2 separate regions of the Homo sapiens genome follow, and region 2 is linked to region 1. Evidence: promoter capture Hi-C in 16 types of primary human blood cells and fetal thymus (Javierre and others, 2016). All regions are on one chromosome and are shown on one strand. Each heading gives the region's core, a stretch centred on a gene start or on the middle of the fragment in contact. The rest is flanking DNA. Distances are from core to core; before and after follow the strand shown.

Region 1 (2,752 bases), core at 88-2,587:
TACAGGCTTGAGCCATCGCCTCCGGCCTGGTGTTTGCTTTTCTAATCTCACTTAATCCAAAGAGAGATTGCACAGCATTTAGACCTAGTCTTTGTCAATATTTTAAGCACACATTATTGTCCAATACATTAAATATCTTAGGGATTGATATTTAAAAGACATTATTTTCTAAATATGAAAGTGTATTATTAAATGAAGTGTGGTTATACAAATCAGGCATTCCGTCTGCTTTTTCCATTTGAGTATCATTGATCTGGAGACAGGAAAGAACTGGATATTTTTCAAGCAGTTCTCCTGAAATGTTATTACAACCGAGCTGTTGGGGCCGACGAGGATTTCAGAGAACTGCAAGTCTACAACCAGGTAAGGGCAACTCCAGAGCTTTAAACAGCCGGCCAGGCCCGGAAGCCTTCCAGGCTGAGGACTCTCAGCAGCAGGACTGGCCGCGTCGAGGAAAAACAAGAGGGGAAGAGATGGCCTCTGGGGGATGGAAGCCCCAAAGGGAAGAAAGACCTGGTTTCTGGCAAAGAAACCACATTGGCCAGGAGCTGTGGCTCACGCCTGTAATCCCAACACTTTGGGAGGCCAAGGTGGGAGGATTGCTTGAGCCCAGGAGTTTGAGACTAGCCTGTAAGACCACTTCCCCCAACTCTAAAAAGAAAAAATAAAAATTAGCCGGGTATTTGGGTCAACTTGTGATAGTTTACTTTGACTAGTGTGGTCTTAGTTGTAATTATTTCGGAGGCTTGGTGATACACGCCTGAGGCGAGAGGATCGCTTAAGCCCAGGAGGCTGCAAGTGAGCTGTGATAGCGCCACCGAACTCCAACCTGGGTGACAGGGCGAGACTCTGTTTCAAAAAAAAAAAAAAAAAGGGAAAACCAGATCAGCACTTGGGGTGCCCCTTCCCCTCAGCTTTAGCAAGATCCTGTGTTTTGATGCGGTAGGCAGGTGCGTGGTTCAGTCATGCCCAATGCTCAGACCACTCCTCACTTTTCACATCCAGGAGGAGGAGCTGTCAGGTTTGACCGCACTCAAGCAGCAAATGTAGTCCAGGGGACGGCTAGAGGTGAGGTCAGCCGCAAGACTGGCGTCACTGCGTGGGCCCAGCAAAAACCTGAGTCAGGAGGCGGCCAGGCAAGGTCAGTGGAGGGGGCGGGGCCCGAAGCGGAGGCGGAGCTTGGGAAAGCCTGGCGTGAGGGCGGGGCGGGGCCAGAGGTGGGCTGAGGCCGGATCAGGCGGTGGGGGCGGTCCCCGTAGCCCCGTGAGGCTCGCGCCTGCGCACGGGCCCGCGGCGGGGCGGGACTGCGCGTGCGCGGTGCGCCGGCCCTGGAGGGCGGAGTCCGGGCGGGCGCCGGCCGAGGGAGGGGGCGCGGCGGCTTTGGAGTCCGGCGCTCCCTCAGGCCGCGGACGCGATGCTGGTTGCTGCGGCTCGGGCGGCGGGGCTGGCGGGGATGTGACGGGCGGCCCTTCGTCTCACCTTCCGTCCTCGGGCCCGCAGGTCGCAGGGCGGCCTGCAGCTGGGCCGCGGCCGAGGAGGCAGCGCGACCTCCGCACGGTGAGATCCGGGCTCAGGGCCAGAGCCGGGGCCGGGGTCGCGGCGGGCGCCGGGGGCAGCCCAAGACCAGGCACGCAGTCCGGGGCGGGGCGGAGGCCCGAACTCCCGGGCTGAGGCGGTGTCGCCCTCCCGTACCCGGCCTCCAGGGTGAGCCTCTCTAGCCCCTCGCGAGCCGCCGGACGCGGGGCGGGCGCGGACCCGGGAGGCCGGAGGGCGCCCTCCCTGCGGCTGTGACAGCGCGGGGCCTCGGGCCGCGGGCGCCGCCGCCTTTCAGGAGAAATCAGGGCGAGGCTGAGGCACTCTGATTTCGGAGCCTGGTTGCGTGTGAGGGTGGATAGGGAAAGTACCGGGGCTCCCCGAATGAGTTCGATTTTTTTTTTCTTTCAATTACTGGGCTAAATGAAAGACACACCCTAAAACACATCCTGAGGTGAAACTTTGGTGGGGCACACCGTTGCCGTAGGTTCAGATCTTCTCTCTTGTCTTTAGACATGTATTTTCATACATTTTTAAATAATGCACCTACTTTCTTGATAAAGTAAAAGGAGGAATGAAGGGACTCCTTTGTGGTGGTCCTTGGTGGCGAAGCTTGTTTCCATTTCAGTAATTGCATATTCATCTGTGTGGGCTCCCCGACCAATGAGGCTGGCTGCTCCCAGACAAGGCCTTAGCGGAGTGGAAATGACTGACGCAGGGACTCTGGTCTCAGATTAGAGTGTTGGTAGCTCACTCCTGTAAGAGAGAAATTGAGCTTTAAGCTTTTTAAAATAGCCATATGAAAAGCATTCCTTTTCTCCTGAGCATTAAAATATGACGGAACCTATTCATTTGGCCAGTTGTTTTTTTTAAAGCATCATCTTTTAGACTAGAGACTTTAGAGATGGCAGCTGCTCTTTAACCAAAAGGAACTTAAGATGCTCTCCTGCAAAAGATGGGTTCAAAACATGTCTTATCCGTCATCCATATGTGATAAAAATGTAAATATTCCTGAGTGTTTGCCTGAAATCAGTCTTCTTCCTCTTGGACTTTATTACTGTTTCTCTTAATTTATGAAAGCTTGTTACTGTTATTTTTTGTTTTCGTTTGTGTTCTAAACAACATTGGCTTCAAATAATCTTCAGGTTAAAAATGCACACTTTGTTGAACCCTTTAGCCATAATTCATACTGTCGTACTTCAGCATAAGCCATAGTTAA
Region 2 (2,752 bases), core at 154-2,653, 5.4 Mb after region 1:
ATACATGCTGGAAAGAAGTTGGTGTTTGAGGTATCCAGAGCAGATCAACTTACTGTACAGTTAGTGGGGAGTGAGGTCGGCTGACACTTGATTGTGCAGGACCTGGGAGGCCATGGTAAAGATCAGAATTCTATTCCTTTTCCCCCCTCCTCTTTTTATTTTATAAAATCTGTTATTTTAGAAAGTTGCAAGACTGGTACGATGTACACCATTATACCCTTCAACTAGATTCACCAATTACTAATATTTTGCCACATTTGCTTTCTCTATTTTTTTGCCATATCTTTTGAAGGTAAGCCGCAAACACTGTGACACTTTGCTGCTAATTACTTTAGCAAGCGCCTTCCAAAAACAAAGGCATTCTTCCACTTAATCACAAATTAATTCTCACATGCAATCAATTTAAAACTGATTCAATATCATCTAATATGTAGTTCATATTTAAATTTCCCCAGTTGTCCACAAATGTCTTTCGAAGTTTTTTTTTTTTTTTAAAAACTATGAACCAGCCAAGATTCACAAATTTCATTTGGTTTCTTTTGACTCTCGACTAAAGTAATTTTCCACTTCGTTTTTTTCTTTTTCCTGTCATGACACTGACATTTTTGAAGAGCCTAGGCCTGTTGTCTTGTAGAATATTCTACATTGTTTTTTTCTGATTGTTTCCTCATGATTAATGTCAAACATTTCTAGCACAAATACTATCGGGTGATATTAGCGATGCTAAGTATCTTCACTTGGTTAAGGTATGTCTAATAAATCTCTTCAGTGTAAAATTCTATTTTCCCTTTATAATAAGAAATGATCTGTAGGGTGATTCTTTGAGATACTAACATCCTCTTCCCTACAACCTTTCAGTTAATTGTTTGTTTTAGCATCTTGCATTCATTAGTTTTAGCATTCATAAGCTTACCTATATCAATTTTTAGACTGGCAGTTGCACAATGGGGATGCAGCGAGGGAAGTGACCCTCCGGATCCCGGGATGCCGAGCCTTTTTCTGCCCCGTAGGGACAGGACTGGGAAGTGGCTAGCCCGCCATTCCTCGGCCCGTCCTTAGGGGAGTCGCAGGACTAAGTGCAGTGGCAGTGGCCTCACCTCGGGCCTTCGCCACATCTTTATTGCCTCAAGGACAGAATTGGAGATCGGTGTCCCAGTCAACAGCGTGGTACTTATGACAGCCGCGAGAAAGCGCACTACTAAAGCCCGGCTAGCAGAGCTGGGAGGCAAACCAGACCGTCAGCACCAGGGCGGCCCACGCCTGCTTCCGCCCATTGGCTGCCCGCGTTTCAAGACCCGCCCCCATATTGGAGAGCTTCTTCCGGTAGCCACTGGAAAGCCCGCAGCGCGAGCCGGCTACGCTCCCTGGCGGAGCTCTGGACGCCCCACCTACTCCCAGCGTTCAGTGCGGTGCCCTGGCCGCCATTGTTTGAATTTGAAAACGGTAACATCGCAGTGCTGCTCGCGGGTCTGGCTAGTCAGGCGAAGTTTGCAGGTGAGGAGGTGACCCGCGGGAATGTGTGGGGAAGGAGGTGGGTGACTGCGCATGTATGGGGCCTAAGGTGGGGAAACGGCTTTGGCAATGTGGACATGTTCCGACAGGGCTCATACCCCAGTGGAGGTTACTGTCAGGAACTGGGTTGCGGAGCGATGCGAACACGGGGTACGCAGCGAGGAATGAGTCATACTAATTCGGTTACGGTTTAAATCTCGCCTCCACTGCTAATTAGCTGAGTGACGCAAGACAATTCATTTAATCTCTCTCTGTACCTTAGTTTTCTTATCAGTTAAAAGGCTGCAATGAAGTGTCTATTTCTTTCGGCTTTTGTGAAGATTAAATGGTAATGTGTAAAGTTATTAGTGCTGGCACACAGTAGGTACTAAATGTTTGCAGTTATTAATATTATTATTGTTGTTGCTTCTGTTGTTGTTGAGGAACAGGCCTGTTTTGCCACACCTAGTTTTCTGAAGCTCTGAGGTGAGCAGTTTGCTCGGCTGGTAGGTAACACGGCCTTTTTGCGGGGGGAGCCCTGTGGTAGCCTCTGTGCACTTATTTCCAGACTACTCCTACTGGTCCTTGGGGCTTGCCCTTCTAGGGTTTTGCAGTGCCAGGCTGAAGAGTTTGTGGCACAGTGACTGCTGTCATTCCCCAGTTTAGAAGGCTTTCTCCATCTCGATTCGCTCGCTGGTTCAGTGATGCATGTCTGGCACAGTTCTCTTATATTTCTTGCTAAACTACTAGTTTACAGAAGTTCACGCCTTATGGGTTAGGTAGTGTAACAGTGTATTTATCTTACATGTCCAAGACTCCAGATTTTAAATTGTAAAAATAACATAAAATACTCATCGATTAGTTGTGAAGACTTTTTTTGAGGCTTTGTGTTGTAGACCACATTCAGAAACCTCATTCAGCAACAGATTCTGCTATTTTTCACCAAAGTCTCCAATTGTGGATTCTTATTGGAGAGAGGGTAAATATGCAGTTTTCCAGTCAGAGCAGCCTTTTGAAATGAAAAATGAGGTCTTGGAGCCTGCTGTCACGAAAGATAATATTACAGACTAGGACCGACTTTTTTTTTTTTTTTTGGAATAGTATTTTCTTTATAACCATTATTTTAAGTCATTAGGTAGTCTTTATCCCTGCATAAGTCGCTGAATTTGTTATAGGGGATACAGAGTGGTATAAGGCAAGGTTCTTGCCATCAAGAAGTTTCCAGTTTAGTTGGGAAGGCCACGTATAAGTAGAAGTCATC

What was found. Contacts are between HindIII fragments. The CHiCAGO score rates a contact against its expected background, and 5 or more counts as called.
Region 2: a contact is called between the fragment with the promoter of KIF20B here and the fragment with the promoter of CCSER2 in region 1, in 2 of 17 cell types (total CD4 T cells and neutrophils). The highest score is 9.5, in total CD4 T cells.

Annotation. Positions count from the first base shown.
Region 1 is chr10:84,327,252-84,330,003 of GRCh38, forward strand. CCSER2 (coiled-coil serine rich protein 2) reads left to right here and starts at 1,338. Exons shown (of 10, transcript NM_001284240.2): 1 at 1,338-1,557. RefSeq lists a silencer at 1,102-1,831 and an enhancer at 1,882-2,231. The HindIII fragment of the contact is 12,289 bases long and covers 1-2,143 here.
Region 2 is chr10:89,700,187-89,702,938 of GRCh38, forward strand. It overlaps KIF20B (kinesin family member 20B), which reads left to right and starts at 1,404. Exons shown (of 33, transcript NM_001284259.2): 1 at 1,404-1,494. RefSeq lists a silencer at 926-1,005 and enhancers at 1,050-1,565, 1,566-2,082. The HindIII fragment of the contact is 4,302 bases long and covers 907-2,752 here.